Linked DNA regions of Homo sapiens: region 1 is linked to region 2. Evidence: promoter capture Hi-C in 16 types of primary human blood cells and fetal thymus (Javierre and others, 2016). All regions are on one chromosome and are shown on one strand. The core of a region is centred on a gene start or on the middle of the fragment in contact, and the rest is flanking DNA. Distances in the headings are between cores, read along the strand shown. Region 1 overlaps C11orf58 (chromosome 11 open reading frame 58). Region 2 holds the start of IGSF9B (immunoglobulin superfamily member 9B).

Region 1 (4,436 bases), core at 1,592-4,091, about 120 Mb before region 2:
ACCAGGTTATGTATTGAGGAGGTAAATTGATTGCAGTTCTGTAGTAAAGGGTATTAAGGATGAAAACAACTTAAAAGTCGTTTCATTGGCTTGGAGTGGAGAAATGAAAGCTATCTTATAGGAAGTGGGAAGAGTGGGGAGGTAAATTTTAGTAACTGCTAAGGAACTCTCTTAAAATGTATAGTGCACCCACGTGCTTTTCAGAATGCAGCATTTGGGCAAGTACTCACTGTTGTACTTTAAGGCAGGGCTCTCCAACCCCTGGGCCACAGAACCAGGCTGCACAGCAGGACGTGAGCTGTGGGCCAGCCAGCAAAGCTTCATCTGTATTTACAGCCACTCCCCTTGGCTTGCATTACCACCTGAGCTCTGCCTCCTGTTGGCATTTGATTCTTATAAGAGCGTGAACCCTGGTGTGAACTGCACATGCGAGTGATCTAGGTTGCACACTCCTTATGAGAATCTAATGCCAGATGATCTGTCATTGTCTCCCATTACCCCCCAGATGGGACTGTCTAGTTTTAGGAAAACAAGCTCAAAGCTTCCATTGAGTCTACATTATGGTGAGTTGTATAATTATTTCATTATAGATTACAGTGTAGTAATAATAGAAATAAAGTGCCCAATAAATGTAATGCACTTGAATCATCCTGAAACCATCACATCCTCCCTCTCAGTGGAAAAATTGTCTTCCACGAAACTGGTCCCTGATGCCAGTCTGGTCCTGGAGTGCTGCTTTAAGGTCTTTGAAAAGAAGAACTGGCAGGACTTAATGTTATTTCCTTAAAACATTGGGATTAGAAGTTGTAGATGACAGTTATTTATATAAACACTGAAAATGTTTTTTAATAGAAGCAGAATCAAGAAAGTTGGTTTTTACACAATTTTTTAACTTCTATACATTTTTATAACTAGTTCATAGACCACTTTCATCTGTCTCATTTGATCATGGACAGTATGATGTGGAAAAAACACAGGATGGTCAGAGGATCAAAGGAAGTCACTTAGCCTCTCTGTGCCTCAGTGTCTTAAGACAGTCTTTTAAAAAGGCATCTCTTTATAGATAAGGAGTTAAAATTAAGTTAAATGTCAGATCCTGGCTTACAGAGCAAGTGATTTAGTGATTGTCAGAACTGAAGCTTCACCATTACTTTAACTATATTGAGCCAGAAATAGTTAAGAACTAAATGGCCCATAAAAATATATGAGGGGGGTCACATGGAAAAAAGTAGAGATTTGGAACTTAGGGAACCAAAATTATGAGAGCATATAAGCCCTTCCACTAATGAGAATTTAGAAGTGCAAATGGGTCCAGGTTGGTACAAATGCTTTAACTCTCATATGCCCAGGGGAAATAGTGGTTTTTTTAAATATTCTTTTAGTCTTTTACAAATAATTTTTAGAAATAATAATGGGAGATAGTGCAAAACAACTTTATTAGGAATTTTAATGTGAATTTAACAATAGCAAACCGAAATTTATATTCTTTGTTTTCCTGATTTTGATGTACATATAGTCATCCTTCAGTATGCTAAATGTGGGGGATTGGTTCCAGGACCCACCCACCTCTTTGGCAAATCTTGCATACTCAAGTTCTGCAGCCAGCCCTGTGGAACCTGAGAATAGGAAAAATCAGCCTTCCATATACTTGGGATGGATCTGCATTTGGTTGAAAAAAATCCACTTATAAGGGACCCTTGAAGTTCAAACCTGTCTCGGATTTGCATCATCAAAATACAATACTTGAGGAATTTTTGAAACCTATTGCTTACAATTTTGTAATTGTCATCCTTGCTCCATAATTGCAAAACATTTTTATTTTTAGATTATAAACTTAATTAGAATGATAAATTCGGTGAATATTTTTATTTCATTTTCCTTCCAGTCACCTTGTGTACACATCTGCCTTCACCCTTTGTCCATTTGCAACCAAATCAAGTAAATTTTGATGCATAAACATTGTAAAAGATGAGATAAAACACTCACACCTCCTTTTAGAAAATGGGATGATCCTGGCTCTTACTGTGAAATATTGCAAGATGAAGTCCTTCCTGCTGATGGCTCTCCCAGTGAGAGTACATTTCTTGTTTGTCTTTTTTTTCTTTTTCTTGTCAATTCTTGGGTGGGAGAAAAGCCTTCTAATATTTCCTCATCCAAAAACTCATAGTCTGAGATTTTTGCAGTTAATTTTATCATGATTAGTCTAGAATACGACTGCCTTTCATTTTGCATTCACCTTCTTCGTCTAATAATGATTAATGCCTTCTGTCAGTTTTTTCTCTTTGCCATTATGAATGGAAAATGAAAAATTGTGAATTCCCATCGGTGTTCAGTGAAAGCTAAAAGTAGACAACAGGTATGATGTCTTGAAAGATGATGATGAAATACTTTGGACAATACAATGAGAAAACTAATATCTTAAAAACTATTTAGTTATTTTTAGCATAGTTGAGAATAATGAATTATAAATAATGAATTATAAATAATGAACTATTAAAAACTATTAAAAAACAACAGTTTTTACATTTGTTTCAAAATGTAGGGAAAAAATACGCTCACTAGGATTCCATCATATTTCTTAGATTTATAAGAGTTCAGTGGACTCATTTGATAATTGCAAGATAGCATGAGTTTTAGTCTGTTCTTTTAAAAAATAAGTTTTCTCTTTGTTCTTTGGAAGACTTTTAAGAAAGAATAAAAGTAATGACATCTCAATCCTAACAAGTAACTAGAACTGCTAAAAAAAAAAAAAAAAAGGCAACTGAAAAGTTAAAATTTTCTCTCTTAAAAGTTAGCTCACTGATAAAGGCAGAATTTTTAACTTCAACTAACAACTGTGGCTGCCATCTAAGTTCAGAGTACTAGGTGCTCTAGGACCCTACCCTGCGAGGCAGTGGGTCTCAAAGTGTGGTCCCCAGATAAATAGCATCAGCAATCATTTAAGAATTTGTTGAAATTCAAATCCTAGAGCTCCACCCCAGACCCGCTGAATCTCTGGGGCTGTAGCCCTGCAGTCTGTTTTAACAAGCCCTCTAGGTGACGCTGATAGAGGCAAACTTTTGAGACTCAGCTCTGGCTGTAGGAGAACTAAAGGATTCTGCTGTGAGGTAATAGAAAAGGAGTAAATTTGAATGTGATGAATATGCTTAACTTCCTAAGCAAGAAAAATGAACGCTGTTTATAGTTACAACTGACAGGGGAAAAAAACTTGAGAGTTACAGGTAGACTTTAGATTTCGTAATACTTATTTTTATGCAAAAAAAATTTAATCAACCAATTTTTTTTCTAGCTGGGATCTAGCAATTGGGAGGCAGCAGACTTGGGTAATGAAGAGAGAAAACAAAAGTTCTTGAGACTTATGGGTGCAGGAAAGGTAAGCATCAGATGGTGTGCATTTTTACCTTTTCTGTGAAAATATTGCCATTTTTATGTATGCTAAGTAAGAAGGACTGAATATACTTGGATTCCATTTTCCTGTTCTGTGTGATTTCTTTTGGCTTTGGGAAATACATGTGGCCTAACCAAGCACATAAAATTTATATTATTTTTGAGCCACTTCTAGGATTCTCTGTCCGTATAGTTTGAAGACTGTACAGAGAAAAATTTGGTTCAAGGAGGCTGTATAGGAGAAAAGAGATGTCAAAGTTTATGATTTGCCATATGTTGGCCCAGTGGTTTGATAGAATATATTTCTTCTGGGTAGGTTATCTTGTGGGAACCTCTGGCCAAAGTGAAAAGGCTGTCATATTTTATAGCTCCCTCCAGCCCTTGAAGTAGTAACCAGAGGAATATCCTTTATCAAAAACTTAATTTTAAGACTACACTTTCAGAGATTATTTCTATAGTTTGTTACTAGATAGAGAAGTTTCTCTGAATGTGTAGAACACCAGGGGGAAAGAAAACCTTAATTTTAAAAATGTTCAAGATACTTTGAAATGCCTGTCAGTTTGGTTAACGTTAATAGAAGGTACAGTTGACCCTTGAGCAATGTGGGGGTTAGGGGTGCTGGTTCTGCAGGCAGTCAGAAGTTTGCATATAACTTTTGACTCCCCAACAACTTAACTACTAATAGCCTACTGTTGACTGGAAGTCTTACTGATAACATAATTATCAGTTAACACATATTTTGGGTGTTAAATGTATTATATCCTGTATTCTTACAATAAAGAAAAGGAAATGTTATCAAGAAAATTATAAGGAAGAGAAAATAATTGACTCTTCATTAATTGGAAGTGGATTATCATAAAGGTCTTCATCTTCATAGTTTTCATGTTGAGTGGGCTGAAAAGGAGGGATTGTCTTACTGTCTGGGAGTGGCAGAGGCAGAAGTATATTCAAGTATAAGTGGATCCACACAGTTTAATCCTGTGTTCAGGGTCAACTATATAAAACAAGTGCCAGGAAAATATCTATTGTAAAAACCTTTCTTTATCCTA
Region 2 (4,458 bases), core at 998-3,497:
CCAGTCATATGGCTCTAGACCTAGGTCCTTAACTACCACACACAGAGCAATTGAGGCTAAGAAAGACCCCAAGACCAGCAAGGTCACCCTCTGCTTCCAGACAGGGGTACATGTCCAGCCATTCCAGACAGAAGGACCCCTCTGCACCCTGAAAGAGGGCATAACCTTCATGCCAGGCAGCCTTCAATTTTGGGAAGCCCTTCCTTCTATCTTGCGATTCTGCGTGTTGCTGCAGTATAAACTCACATTCCTTTATTCTGGGCTGAAACTTGCAAAGAAGTCCATTGCCCACCCTGACTTAGGTTCGGAGGCTATTTCAGAGCCTTCCTTCAGCGTCTCTTTTCTATTCAAAGATCCCAGCTCATCCTTTTGTGCTTTCAGGGACAGTCCCATAGCAGGAACATACCAAAAACGGGAGGGGAGGAGGATGCGGGCATTGGAAGACGGCAAGGAAATGGGGGAGAGGATGAGGCTACAGGCAGACTGTCAAGCGCAGCCCGATGCACCTCACATCCACCCCCCGTTCCGTAAGCTTCCGCCATCACCCTTGCCTCAGTGTTCCCACCTGACAAATGAAGAGTTTTAAAACCGTCCGGACCAACATGTCAGTTAACAAAATCACCCTTCGCTTCGCCCTCTGCTCGTTCTGTTTTCAGACACCACCACCCCCCTCAGAAGCAGAGGCGACATATTCATTCCATTCCGGAAAGTTTCCTGAAGCACGCCCCCCTGCACAGACGAGTGACGAGGGGACCCCGTGAGAGGCGCCTCCAGCCCACCCGGCGCCCCATGCCGCTGGGAGAGGGTTCTCTGTCGGCGAGTCCTGCCTGCTGACTCCCACCCACAGCGGGTTCTCTCCCGCCGCCATCTCCTCCGGCTTGGTGAACTTGCCCGCAGCCGGGTCGTGTCTGCGCGCTGACAGCCCTGAGCTCACAGTCCTGGCACCCTCCAGGCTCCGCTCCCACTTCCATACAAGGGCCGAGAGCCGGGGGTGCCACCCAGAGGCTTGTAGGTCGCTCTGCCCATCTCCAAAGCAAAAGCCCGCGCGCTCACGCACGCATCACCCAACTCGGTGGCTCCCCCCTTGCGTCTCCCCCAGCTCAGACCCAGGAAAGCGGAAAGAGAAAATCCCCCCTCCGCTCGGATTCACAGCGTGGGGACCCCCCCTTCCCCGCCCCTCCCCTCCCCCGCCGCCGCCCCCAGCCAGCTCTGCCTCGCAGCCTGGGGAGGGCGGCGTGGGGCCCGCGCGGCTGCGGCGCGCTCCCGGGGAACTTTTGCCTGGCCGGGGCCCAGGTGCGGCTGAGAGGCGCGGGGGCCGGCGGGGTCCAGCCAAAAGCGGACACACCTCGAAGCTGGCCTCATCAATCCTCCTCTCACCGGGCGCCCCTGCTAGGGGGATCCGACCTCCAGCTGCCAAGATGTGTGGGCAGGAGGGGCGCGAGCGGAGCGATGGACGCCCGCAGGGCCGCGCGAACCCGGGGCCTTAGACGCGGGTGCCGCCAGTCCCAGGGATCCTCCGGGTCGCGCCTCCCTGCAGGCGCTCCTCGCGGCGCGGGGCTCTAGCGTGCTGCAGCCTGCCCGGAGACCGCAAACTCCCGCAGCCAGAGTTTCCCGCAGCTCTGGGAGGCGGCCGCCGGGCAGGAGGCGACGGGCTAGGCGCGCCGGTGTGCACCGTGGGGCCCGTGGTGGGCGAAGTCGACCCAGGTTCCACTGCGTCCTTTCCCCGAGTGCCCGGCAGCCCGTGGGCTCTGGCCCCTTCCCGCCCGCCCCTCCAGCCCACGGCCCCCAGGCCCTCCCCGGCAATGCTCCCGGGCCGCCTGGCCCGCGTCGGAGCCCAAGCCTCACCCGCGGGAAGGCGCGCCGGGGAGCTGGGGAACCGGGGGGCCAAGGAGCCGGGAAACCGAGGGGCCGGGCGCGAGGGGCCGAGGGCGCCGGGAGGGGCAGGGGAGGGACGCCGCACTTCAACTCACCTTCAGCCGCAAGCCCTCGGGTGCCGATCACACTTGCTATGAAAGTGGCCACATACCAAATCATAGTACTACCGCGCCAGCCCGGAGCCTCATCCTATCGCAAAGTGCTCCCGCGCCCGCACGCGCCTCGCGCCCGAGCGCCCGCCTCGCGCCCGCCTCGCGCCGCCTACGCCCCGCGCCGGTGCTCCTGCAGCCCGGGTGGCCAGCTCTCCATCCCTCCTAGGCTCCGCTCGGCTCGGCGCGCGCCTCCCCGGCCCCGGCGCAGCGGCACCTGCACTACTCGCCCGGGCGGAGCGCAGCCAGGTCCACGGTGAAGCCTAGCCGGGCCGGGCCTCCGGAACCGCCCCCGCCGCCCGCCTATTGGGCGCCGCCCGCAAGCCGGGGGTCCGATTGGCTCAGCCTTCCGCCCGTCGCGGCGCGAAGGAGGCGAGCCCATTTCAAGGTGCGTTGAAGTGTGGCGAGCACAGAGCCGCAGAATCATGCGCATTGCCGGGGAGAAGGTGGTATAGCGTCTCTGCCCGCTTCTCTCTCGGCTCACACTGCGTGGCAAGTTTCTGGTGAGGGAAATGGTAGCTTCTAACGGGACCCTGGCGGGTCTCAATTACCCCGGACAGGTCTGAGGGAAGTGGAGCCCCCGCCCACTCATGGAACCCAACATCCGGTTTCCATCCGGCAAAAAGCAGTTCCCGAGAGGACCATGCTGATTCTATGATGGGGAAACCCAGGAGCCGGCGGCCCGGGAGAGCCGGGGAACGTCCTTCGCCGGAGATCTTTTCAAAGAGGTCACGCGCCGCCTCCCCACCCCGTCTCCCTCCGCACCCAGACACGTCCCCAGAGCAGCGCACCACCCCCTCCAAACGTGATGCAGACCGGGGGATGACTAAAATGACCTCTCAAAGTCGCTAAGATTTAGAGTGAGTCATTGGCTCAGCTGCGAAGTGCCACAGACCCCTCAGGAACACTCGTGCACACACACTCCACCCCCAGTGCTGGTCACTGCTGCTCATCATTACTGAATCCCGACTCCAAGCAGTCAAAGTTGGGTCTTTTTCCCACTTCTCCTGATAAAGGCTGCTTCCTCACGCACATGGTTCCTCCCCTCTCCACCTTACTCGGAGCCCAGCCCCGACTCGGCCGCATGAAACCAAGATGGGTTTGGGGGAAGCTTTAGGAGTCTGGGATGGAGGAGACCCAGGGAAAGGGAAGGAGCTTCTCATCCTACAGAGGAATGTAAATAGGAAACTGGAAGGTCTTCGTATGTTCCAGTCTCCCTACCCTAGCCTGTCTGCTTCCCCTCCCCCAATACAGTTGTATTTGCAGAAGAAATAAATGAGTGTCATGGAAACATCTACTACAAACAATCACCTCACACCAGCGCTCAGAGGCTGCAGTGAAGATGTTTGTTCTTTCAAGGAGTGAAGGCAGTGGTAAGAATCACACCGCTCCCTGGGATGGGCTGTTGGCCAAGGAAGGAAGGCAGAGGGTCAGCGAGCGAGAGCTCAGGAATTTCATCCTCTCAAAGCACTCGTTAGCCACAAAGCCCTGGCTCCAGGACATGAAGCTCCCAAAACAACAAGAAGGAGACTTGCTTCTGGGAAAGCGTGCACACAGGTACACACACATGCACAAAAAGTGGCCTTGAACACCGGAGGTGGAGCATTCCCTGACACCGGAAGCCTCTTAGCTCACCGCCAGCTGGGAGGCAGAAAGAGGCCCCCAACAGAGCAGTCAGTGAGCACATGGATAAAGGTCGAGGGCCTGGATAGATCCAGAGAACCAGGACTGTTGAATAACCTTCTACCCTACCCACCCCTCCACCTGTGCAAACACACTCAAGATGCATAACTTGGGGCCATCTCTCCCTGAGCCATGATTTTGGTTCTCTTCTTGGGCAAAGATGCCTTTCTGGGGACAATGAAGTGAGCTGCTCCAGGTCTCATTGATGCAGTGATCTCCAGGTCTCATTGATGCAGTGATTTCCAGGTGGCATGACCCAGAATAACTCCACCCCCAACACACACACACACATATACATACACACACACTTACACACTTTCCCAGGGCCCCGGGACTGTAAAGACATATTGGAATCCATTTGCAGAATTGGTCATAACAGGATCCTTCTCCTCCCACAACCTCTAAGCAGCTAACTGTGGCCTAGAGAAAAGTGCCGGATCCACAAAGCCTGGCCCTAGTTCCTCACCATTGTTAGGTATGGAGTGGGAAACATCAGGTCTCAGAGAAACCCTCTCCTAGGGGCCTGCAGGGCAAGGAAAAAGATGGAGCCACTCTCACCACCCATCTTGATTGCTTTGTCTGGCCATCCATTTGTCCTACTCAGGGTTCTGCCTCCTGCTAGGAAAGTAGAACTGTCTGTCAGAATGGATGGCGGGCATGGAGGCTCATGCCAGTAGTCTCAGCTCCTCAGGAGGCTGAAGCAGGAGTATTGCCTGAGCACAGGAGTTCTAGGCTCAGTGATCATGCCACT

Evidence for each region. The method cuts DNA at HindIII sites, captures the fragments that hold promoters and counts their contacts. A CHiCAGO score of 5 or more calls a contact.
Region 1: a contact is called between a fragment that was not itself captured here and the fragment with the promoter of IGSF9B in region 2, in 1 of 17 cell types (activated CD4 T cells). The highest score is 6.2, in activated CD4 T cells.

The regions. Positions count from the first base shown.
Region 1 is chr11:16,741,312-16,745,747 of GRCh38, forward strand. C11orf58 (chromosome 11 open reading frame 58) reads left to right here. Exons shown (of 5, transcript NM_014267.6): 2 at 3,290-3,373. Among named protein-coding and RNA genes, the nearest start is that of C11orf58, 4.9 kb to the left of the region's middle. The HindIII fragment of the contact is 3,409 bases long and covers 1,138-4,436 here.
Region 2 is chr11:133,954,721-133,959,178 of GRCh38, forward strand. It overlaps IGSF9B (immunoglobulin superfamily member 9B), which reads right to left and starts at 2,248. Exons shown (of 20, transcript NM_001277285.4): 1 at 1,971-2,248. The coding sequence starts at 2,034. RefSeq lists a silencer at 2,077-2,426. The HindIII fragment of the contact is 2,603 bases long and covers 531-3,133 here.